4 separate regions of the Homo sapiens genome follow, and regions 2, 3 and 4 are each linked to region 1. The links are contacts of gene promoters, found by promoter capture Hi-C in human tissues and cell types (Jung and others, 2019). All regions are on one chromosome and are shown on one strand. The core of a region is centred on a gene start or on the middle of the fragment in contact, and the rest is flanking DNA. Distances in the headings are between cores, read along the strand shown.

What was found. The method cuts DNA at HindIII sites, captures the fragments that hold promoters and counts their contacts. A contact is called where the count stands out against the background at its distance.
Region 2: a contact is called between the fragment with the promoter of TRIML2 here and the fragment with the promoter of FAT1 in region 1, in 1 of the 25 tissues and cell types used here (IMR-90 fibroblasts).
Region 3: a contact is called between the fragment with the promoter of ZFP42 here and the fragment with the promoter of FAT1 in region 1, in 1 of the 25 tissues and cell types used here (bladder).
Region 4: a fragment that was not itself captured here is called in contact with the fragment with the promoter of FAT1 in region 1 in 1 of the 25 tissues and cell types used here (lymphoblastoid cells).

What each region holds. Positions count from the first base shown.
Region 1 is chr4:186,722,601-186,725,114 of GRCh38, reverse strand. It overlaps FAT1 (FAT atypical cadherin 1), which reads left to right and starts at 1,259. Exons shown (of 27, transcript NM_005245.4): 1 at 1,259-1,451. RefSeq lists enhancers at 1-816, 1,317-1,818. The HindIII fragment of the contact is 8,530 bases long and covers 1-2,514 here.
Region 2 is chr4:188,108,343-188,110,856 of GRCh38, reverse strand. TRIML2 (tripartite motif family like 2) reads left to right here and starts at 1,254. Exons shown (of 8, transcript NM_173553.4): 1 at 1,254-1,614. RefSeq lists an enhancer at 2,223-2,514. The HindIII fragment of the contact is 13,208 bases long and covers 1-2,514 here.
Region 3 is chr4:187,994,513-187,997,026 of GRCh38, reverse strand. It overlaps ZFP42 (ZFP42 zinc finger protein), which reads right to left and starts at 1,256. Exons shown (of 4, transcript NM_174900.5): 1 at 1,187-1,256. RefSeq lists enhancers at 198-492, 107-1,088, 1,089-2,068. The HindIII fragment of the contact is 6,716 bases long and covers 1-2,514 here.
Region 4 is chr4:187,754,779-187,757,292 of GRCh38, reverse strand. No RefSeq gene overlaps it. Among named protein-coding and RNA genes, the nearest start is that of LINC02492, 83 kb to the right of the region's middle. The HindIII fragment of the contact is 4,721 bases long and covers 1-2,514 here.

The sequences.
Region 1 (2,514 bases), core at 10-2,509:
GTGTGAATCTATGTGTATTCCAACTGGTGGGCAGGGAATATAGGGCTACGAATCGGCACACTCATCTTGCAGGCATTATTTTTCCTTCCCAGCCACAACCTGCTAGACACCTTTATTATTATTATTTTTTCCGGTCACCTCTAAGATGGCTTATAAGGTGACTGCGTTAACTTTGAACCCAGGAAATTCTCTTTCACACTTGACTGCCCTGCCGTTCCCCTCCCCGCCAAGCTCCCCTCACCAGTCCCAGGGAAATCGGATCTCTTTGTCTTCCCAGTGTTAAAATGCCTGAGTCCCACAAACTTTCCGAGATCAAGTCCGCCCTCTTGTCCGGGCTGCGTCCCAGCGCCTCCGGCCCTCCGGGCTTCGGCCGAGTCCGCCCTGCGCCGAGCCTGCGGCTGGAGCCCTGCCCGCACCGGGGATGGGCTCCGCGCCCGGGACGCTCAGGCTGGGCGCCCGGCGCGGGGAGTTCTCGGAGCGGGCTTCTCGGCGCTGGGGCTTCCCCTCTGCCTAGGAACTTGCAGTTGTCGGCCTGGGGTCACGCTTTGGGGCCCCTGGGGCCGACTCCCGGGCTAGGAAGCCCGCGGGACGCCGCGACTGCCTTTTGTCCCACAGGCCTGGGCGTCCGGGGTGTCAGCGGGGGAGGCCAGGCGCCCGCGGCGGGGAGGGCCTGGGGTCTAACTCGGCAGAAAAAGGTCGCGGGGGAAGCGTTTCCATTTTCTGGGGATTGAAGGAGGAAGTAGATTCCGACCTAGCTGCATTCCTTTGGAGACCTGAAGGACGACTTCAGCCCACCAAACCTTCGCGGACCCAGAGCCGCGCCATTCAAATGCAGATTCAGGGGCTCCCAGAAGGCTATGGAAAAGCTAAAGGGATGCCTCTGGGAAGCTTTCTCATTAGGCCCCAGCCTTTTTTTTTTTTTTTTTTTTTTAGCTAAGCTAACGTTTCCCTTTCTTGGCAGGGAGCTTTCCCCAATTCCTTGCACAGCGCCTGTGGCTGGCCGTAACTAACCTCGGCATCACAAGCCTCGCCCTGCCCCTCGGAGCCGCGCTAGACCCCGCTGGGCGCCTTCTCGTCTCCCAGCACGGACCTGGTGTTCGCAGGGACTGGGGCTCTTTGGGTCCGGGCGGGACTGCGTGGCCGAGCCCGCGGTCCCAGAGCCGGCAGCCGGGGAAAGTGGGCTCGAGTTTCCGCGCCCGAGAAATGAGCGCCGGCGCCGGCGGGCGGGGCCGGGGCGGAGGGATCTCCTGCGCTCGGGGAGCGTGAGGCGCCGGCGCCGAGCTGGGCGGCCGGGCGCGGGGAGAGGGCGCGGGAGCGGCTCGTGCGGCAGGTACCATGCGGACGCGCGAGCCCGGCGAGGGCCCCGGCAGGCCCGGTCCCTGCTCGGGGGCGCGCTGAGACGGCGGGTGAGCTCCACGAGAGCGCCGTCGCCACTTCGGGCCAACTTTGCGGTTAGTTCGCTGGGGCGCGGGCCGGCGGGCGGGGGCGAGAGCGTGCAGCGCGCTGCGGTGCGGACTCTGTGGGTGTCCGCCCGGTCCCCGGCTCGGGCTCCGGCGCTGCCGAAAACGGATGAGCGCGCGACTTCCCGGAGGGTGGAGTGACTCGGTCCTTCCCAGTTGGGAAATTCAGCACTGGCTAGGGGGGTCCCGGCGGCGGAGCGGGAAAAGGAGGCGACCGCGCGGGACCGATCCGGGGCCATTGCTGGGGTCCGATCCTTTCTGACACGCCGCCTTCCCTCCGGGAGCTCGCCGGGCTGCGCCGGCCTCGCGGTCTCCTGGGGCATCCCGCCGTCTGCGAAAGACCCGCTCGCTGAGCGGTGCACGCGGGAGGCCTGCGCGGGGCTGCCGGGTCCCTGGGTCTCTGGGTGTTTGCGCCCTGCAGGAGCGCTGCCCGGAGGTGCAGATGCAACCGGTGGACTGCGGAGTGAAGGGCTGCGAGGCTGCATTTCGGGGCTGAACATCTGCACAATGTGCGGTTTGTCAGTGTTTTCTGTCTTCTCTGGAGGAGGAACTTCTAAGATCTTTTTAAAAGAAAGAGTTTTTGGTCCTTCATTGCCTTTAAAAAAAAATGCTTTCTTTTAGAGAGCCAGCTTTCTGCTGTGTGTTAGATTTTTTTGTTCCCGCTGATGTGAATTGCAAGGCTTTGGAAACAAGGACGCAATTGTATGAGTTAGGAAAGTAAACTCATAAATATTTTCTATGCAGTTAAGTTTTTTTTTTTGTCTGAACTGTGGTTTCATTAAGTGGCTTTTGTTAAGCAATTCCCGGGTGCCTGATAGAGGCGATTTTTTAAAAGTGGATATTAACAGTGATTATTAGTATGAGAAAAGATTGAAAAGAAAATGACCTTCAGATATTCATTTCCTTTTCAAAAGCAGATTCTTAATGCTTCGTATATTCAGATACAGGTTTCGATAGTTTAAGAAGGTATCTGTGTGTGAGAACTAGGTAATGGTGATGTTTTTCACACTATTCTTAATGAGTTTGGTTATGCTGTCCAACACATCCAGTTGTT
Region 2 (2,514 bases), core at 5-2,504, 1.4 Mb before region 1:
CTTAGAAGAGAAAGGAAGATTGGATTAGAAAAATAAGAGAAGTAAAGGAGGATGGACTGGCTGAGGAGGGGAGGGGGCACAGGAATAAATGTGGTCTATTTGAAGAAAGCTGGGGAATTGGGTTTTGGAAAAGAGAGTGGGTGTAGGTAATCATCTGAGATAAGAGAAAGGGTGTATGGCCAGGCGCGGTGGCCAGAACTTTTGGAGGCCAAGGAGGGTGGGTCACCTGAGGTCAGGAGTTTGAGACCAGCCTGGCCAACATGGTGAAACCCCATCTCCACTAAAAATACAAAAATTAGCTGGGTGTGGTGGGCGCCTATAATCCCAGCTACTCGGGAGGCTGAAGTGGGAAAATTGCTTGAACCTGGGAGGCGGAGGCTGCAGTGAGCCGAGATCGCTCCACCGCACTCCAGCCTAGGCAACAGAGTGAGACTCTCATCTAAAAAAAAAAAAAAAGAAAGAAAAAAGAAAAAGAGAAACGGTGTATTGAGATTCCATAAGGTAGAACCAGGTTCTGAAAGATCAGATAAGCAAAGCAGAAGAATTCTCATTATCCTGTCAGCAGCATAAAGAAAAAAACTCCCTGGTTTGATTAGCAGGGGATTGACTGACTGATGCAATAAAAACCCTCGGGGACAAAACTATAAAACTTAGAAAGCTGTGAAGAGTTCCTCCTCACTGAAGCCAAATATCAAGTATGAATTATCTGGGATTGTTCCCTGACCTCCCATCTGTGACAGATTCCATAGGCAGTTATCCCTACTCTTGGTTTTTCTTTCCACAGATACTGGAATGAACACTTCTCCAGCAAACGTTCTAGAAACTAACAAGTCAGGCATTATTTTCTACTAAGGAACAAACACAGTCTTGAGTGTTAGCTCGAAGGCTTCTTTCCTGTGAAATTGTCAATATACACTAGATTCATTAAGAAAGAAAACCCCAAACCTTAAGGAGCTAGAGGTGTTAGGCACTGTACATGGCACTGGAGATAAAACAAGATATTTATCCAACCAAGGTCAGGGCTATTAAGCATTTTCTGGGAGTCCATTAAAAATGTAAATTACGGACCCCACCGTAGATTTCTGGAATCAGAGACCCTGTGAAGAGGCTTGCGTTTTAATAAACTCAGGTGGTTCTAATGAGATTAATTGTGTGAATATGATAAGAAACTTCACAGACGCCTTCCTGATGGTGTGAGGGCGGGGCTGAGGGAGGAATTGAACAGATAAAATCTCTTCAGTCTCCACTGTTCCAGCTTTTTCCCTAAAGGAAATACCTTGGTTCGGTGTGGTGACTCATTCCTGTAATCCCAGTACTTTGGGAGGCTGAAGCAGGCAGATTGCTTGAGCCCAGGAGTTCAAGACCAGCCTGGGAAAAATACTGAAACCCCGTCTCTACAAAAAATACAAAAATTAGCCGGGTGTGGTCGTGCAGCGCCTGTAATCCCAGCTACTCAGGAGGTCAAGGTGGGAGAATCACTTGAGCCTGGGAGCTCGAGGCTGTAGTGAGCCGAGATTGCGCCACTGCATTCCAGCCTGGGTGACAGAGCAAGACCCTGTCTCAAAAAAAAAAAAAAAAAAAAAAAAGGAAATACCCAGGATTGCTACAAAGAAAGTAAGTGAGATTTTCTCTATAGATCATTTTCTTAATAATTGTTTCTTTAGATTTCTAAACTTGATCTTAGAATCTATGTGTGTGTGTGTGTATCTGTGTGTTATCAGGAAAAAGCCTGAAGAAAAATATTAGGAAAAACAAAATAAGGGTAGACAACATGCTGGGGACTTAATTCGTCAATTTTCCTTTGCTGTTTCTGTAAAAATATTTAGTCTCTGTCCCTCTCTCATTACACCTTCAATTTTTACTGGTTTAACATAAAATATCGTTTACAATATTTATTGTGCATCGAGTATGTCAGATGTAGACACAGGGCATCTCAAGGACTTAGTTTCTTATGGATGGAGAGTGACCCACAAGTAAACTTGTTCATAGAAAGATAAAATCTTTTCGCTACTAAGAAAATAAAATAAGGAGATGAGTAGTGGGAAGGTATTTCAAATTGAGTAGTGATGGAAAGGTCTCTCTTGGGAAGACATTTGAGCTGAGAACTGAAGAGAAGAAAGAAGAGGCAGCTGGAATTGCAAAAATATGAGAGAAGAGCTCTGTTGGCCACGGAAGGGGGAAGGGCTGTGATGAATTAGAGGCAGCTAGATTGACAGTGATGGGGGAAAGCTATAGAGAGATCAGAAGAAGGCAGGAGGCCAGATTGTATAGGACGGGGTTATTACCCACTTCGATCTTACTCTAATGCCATAGAAAGTGACCACAAACCTGCTCACTTGGTTTTGGTTTTAAAATAGTATTCTGGTGGTTGAGCAGAGAGGAGCTGGAGATGGACGAGGAGGGCAGGACAGAATATAAATTTGGAAAACAATAGTTGAATTGGTGAAAGGAAGGCTTAAACTGTGGCTCTAAAGGAATGAGTTTGGGGGAAGAGAGCCACTGGGTTGAGATCCT
Region 3 (2,514 bases), core at 7-2,506, 1.3 Mb before region 1:
CTCCATGCTCCACGCTCCACGCTCCATGCTCCATGCTCCCTACAGCTATGGCGGGCAGGAAGGTGGGGGCTGGGGCGAGGCCCAGGCGCGGGGCTGACGGTGAGCCCCGGGACCATTTGCATTTCATCCCAGGTCCCAAGGAAACCATTACAGGGCTTCCAACAAGCAAACAGCAAGTTTTTTTAGGTTAGAAGATGGGCCGGACAGCTGCATGGAGAATGGATTTGGGGAGAACAGAAAAATCTATTAGATTTGGGAATCCCGCGAAGGGCTGCCAGGGGTTTGGAGCAGATGGCGGCAGAGGAGATGAAATGCAGGGAGAGCGGGAAAACAGGAGAAAGAACCACCCCCTCGCCCTGCAGCTCGCCGGTGGATTGGATGAAGAGCGGAAGGGAAACAGGAATCAAGAATGAGTCTCGCCCGGCGCGGTGGCTCACGCCTGTAATCTCAGCACTTTGGGAGGCTGAGGCGGGCGGATCATCTGAGGTCACGAGTTCGAGACCAGCCTGACCAACATGGTGAAACCCCGTCTCTACTAAAATACAAAAATTAGCCGGGCGCAGTGAAGGGCGCCTGTAATCTCAGCTACTTGGGAGGCTGAGGCAGGAGAATCCCTTGAACCCGGGAGACGGAGGTTGCAGTGAGCCGAGATCGCGCCATTGCACTCCAGCCTGGCAACAGAGCGAGACTGTCTCCAAAAAAAAAGAAAAAAGAAAAGAAAGAGTCTCCTAGGTTTTTTGCTAGAGTAATTTGAGTTGGGGGTATTGCCATCTCCAGAGATAAGAGGAGAGGAAAAGAAAGGGAAGAGACTGGTGTCTTGATCACAATGTAAGCATGTTAATATAGAAAAGACTTAGCCAGATATTGTAAGGAAACATATTTACATGAAGTTTTGAAATAAAATAAAAAATGCAATTTAGGAAATCACCGCCAGACACTTGCTTTCTTGAGAGTGTATTACTTGCCCATCTGCCCGTTTTCAACATTTGAGGCCAGTGGCCAGCCACGGGTCACCGCAGGGCGAGGGCTACAAGTCTCCCGGCGAGGCCGGCTCCGGCCTGGTCCCAGGATGAGAACACGCTTCCCCTCCCTGACTATCTAACCCCTTTGACCGACACATTCCAAGTAGTGAGCAACACAACCCCCTTCTCCCCATTTGAAAAAAGTTCCATGAAACAAGACTCACCCCTGTTACCGCGAAGCACTCTGCTATTTCCAATGCCACCTCCTCCCAAACGTAAAACAAAGGAGAAACTGCAGTGGAAACGTGGACTGCCCTGCGCCCCCTCCCAAGACCCACCCTCCGGACTGACGCGGTCTAATCAGGCTACAGCCACCCATCAGCTCCGCCAGGGTTAGGGAGGGCGTGGCCGGCCCCGCCCTGGGGCGCCGCCCTGGAGCCACCTGGCCCGCGCGTTCACTCTCTGCCCGGAGCCGCCTGGCACCTGGGCGGCGCGCTCACCCTCAGCCCGGGGCCCCCAGGCACCCGGCCCGCACGCAAACCCTCAGCCCGGGGCCCCCTGACCCCCGCGTTCACCCCTCAGCCCGGCCGCCGGGCACTGCGCATCCGCCACGTGGCAGCGCCTCCAGAGCCCAGACGCCCGGCGTTGGCACGTGGTGAGCGCTCAATAAATGTCTGTTGAACAAATACGCGTGGGTGTAATCACATTTACCCTTTTAGGCCGGACGCGGTGGCTCACGCCTGTCGTCCCAGCACTTTGGGAGGCCGAGACGGGGGGATCACATGAGGTCAAGCGTTCGAGACCAGCCTGGCCAACATGGCGAAACCCCGTCTCTACCGAAAAATACAAAAATTAGCCAGGCATGGTGGTGCTCGCCTGTAATCCCAGCTACTCAGGAGGCTGAGGCAGGAGAATCGCTTGAACCCGGGATGCGGAGGTTGCAGTGAGCCGAGATCGCGCCACTAAGCTCCAGCCTGGGTGATAGAGCGAGGCTCCATCTCAATAGAACAAAACAAAACATTTACGCTTTTGCAGATCGAGGAAAAAAATCAAGCGGAGGAGGCAGTTTTTACCCCCCGAAATAGAGGTTGACTCGAACGCAAACCCCCACACCTTTCCCACCCCACCCTACCCCCAGTTGTTTCAAACACCCCCAGTGTTTGTTTTCTTTTTTCTTTTTCTGGCCATTAATGTGACTGTATTGCTAAAGGCAACACAACTCACTTTGAAAGCAATGGTCAGTCAACGCTCACTATTGGCTACAGTCTAGTGAAATGTAATAGGTCGTATAAGTACACCCAGACCATTAGAACGAAACCCAGATCGATATTTAAAAACCTCCTAAATGTTGACTTGAAGCTTTTCTGCATATATATCTGGGAGCAGTTCTCCACTTTTTTCTTTTTTTAAATCTGTTTCTGAATAAGCTTCAATTTTGAGGTTGGCCAATAAAATATAATTTTCCTTCCTTCCTTCCTTCCTTCCTTCCTTCCTTCCTTCCTTCCTTCCTTCCTTCCTTTCTTTTCTTTCTCTTTTTTTTTCTTTTTTGAGA
Region 4 (2,514 bases), core at 11-2,510, 1.0 Mb before region 1:
AAAAGAAATCAATATGAGCAAGATCTCTCAAAACCACACAATTACACGGAAATTAAACAATTTGCTTCAGAATGACTTTTGGGGAAACAACAAAATTAAAGCAGAAATTAAAAATATTATTTGAAATAAATGAAAATAGAGACACACTGTGCTAAAATATCTGGGATGCAGCAAAAGCAGTGTTAGGAGGAAAATTTATAGCACTACTCACCTACCTCAAAAACACAGAAAGGTCTAAAATTCATGATCGAACATAACACTTAGAGGAACTAGAAAAACAAAAACAAACTAACCTCAAAGCTAGCAGAAGAAAAGAAGTAAATCAGAGCAGAACTGAACAAAATTGAGGTACAAAAAACCCATACAAAGTATCAACAAAACCAAAAGTTGGTTATTTGAAAGGATAAACAAGATCAATAGACTACTAGCTAGATTAACAAAGAAAGAAAGAAAGAAAGAAAGAATGAAAGAAAGGAAGATTCACATAAGCAGAAGCAGAAACAACAAAGATGACTTTCCCACCGTTTTCACAGAAATACAAAAGATACTCAGGCAGTATTGTGAACAGCTCTATGCACATAAACTAGACAATCTAGACAAAATTGTTAAATTCCTAGAAATACTCAATTTCCCAAGATTGAATCAGGAAGAAATTGAACACTGAACAGACCAATATTGAGTTATAATATTGAACCAATAATAAAAAACCTACCAACCAAAAAAAAAAATCCATGGACTAGAAGGATTAACATTTGAAGTCTACCAGATATACAAAAAAAAAAAAGCTATTTATTTGAAACTATTCAAATAAATTGAGAAGAGACTCCTCCCTGATTCATTTTACAAAGCCAGCATCACCCTGATACAAATTCCTGGCAAAGATACAATGAAAAAAGAAAACTACAGGCCAAAATTCCTGATGAACATAGATATGCAAAAATCCTCAACAAAATACTTGCAAACTAAATCCAATAGCACACCAAAAAGTTAATTCACTGCAATACAGATAGTTTCATTCCTGAAATGCAAGGTTGGTTCAACATACATAAATGAATAAATGTGATTCACCACATAAGCAAAATTAAAAACAAAAACCATATGATATTTCAATAGATGCAGAAAAATCTTTCCATAAAATCCAACATCCCTTTATAAAAAAATGCTCAAGAAACTAGGCAGTGAAGAAACATATCTCAAAATAATAAGAACCATCAATGGCAAAACCACAGCCCACATTATACTGAATGGACAAAACTGGAACCATCCCCACCTTTGAGAGCTGTAACAAGACAAGGATGCTCATGCTAACCACTCCTACTCAACATAGTATTGGAAGTGCTAGCCAGAGCAATTATAAAAGAAAAATAAATAAAAGGAATCCAAATAGAAAAAAGAGTCAAATGATCTCTCTTTGCTGATTATATACTTCTATATCTAGAAAATCCTAGACTCTGCCAAAAGGCTCCTGGAACTGATAAATGACTTCAGTAAAGTTTTAGGATACAAATTAATGTACAAAAATCAGTAGCATTTCTATAAACCAATAACATTTCCATTTACAATACAAGAAAACAATCCCATTTACAATAGCCACACAAAAATAAAATACCTAAGAACACACCAAACCAAGAAGGTGAAAGATCTCTATAAGGAGAACTACCAAACATTGTTGAAAAATATCATAGATGACACAAACAAATAAAAAAACTTTCCATGCTCATATATAGGAAGAATCAACATTGTTAAAATGGCCATACTGCCCAAAGCAATCTACAGATTCAACACTATTCCTATAAAATCACCAATGCCATTTTTCACAGAAGTAGGAAAAACCATTCTAAAATTTATGTATAACCAAAAAAGCAGCAGCCTGAATAGACACTGCAATCCTAAGCAAAAAGAACAAAGCCAGAAGCATCACATTAACTGACCTCAAACTGTACTATAAGGCTGTAGTAGCCAAAACAGCATGGTACTGGTACATAAATAGATGCATAGACCAATGGACCAGAATAGAGAACTCAGAAATAAAGCTGCACACCTACAGCCATCTGGTCTTCAACAAAAGTCAACAAAAATAAGCAATGGGGAAAGGACTCCCTATTCAATAAATAACACTGAGATAGGTGACTAGCCATATGCAGAAGATTAAAACTGGATCACTCCATTTTACCATATAGAAAAATTAACCCAAGATGAATTAAAGATTTAAATGCAAAACTCAAAACTATAAGAATCCTAGAAGGAAACCTAGGAATTACCACTCTAGACACCGGCCTTGGCAAATAATTTATGGCTAAGACTCCAAAAGCAATCACAATAAAAACAAAAATTGACAGGTGGGACCTAATTAAACTAAAGAGCTTCTGTGCAGCAAAATAAATCATCAGAGTAAACAGACACCCTACAAAATGGGAGAAAATGTTCACAAACTATGTATCCAACAAAGGTCTAATATCCAGAATCTATAGGAAACTTACATCAACAAGCAAAAAACAACCCCATTAAAAAGTG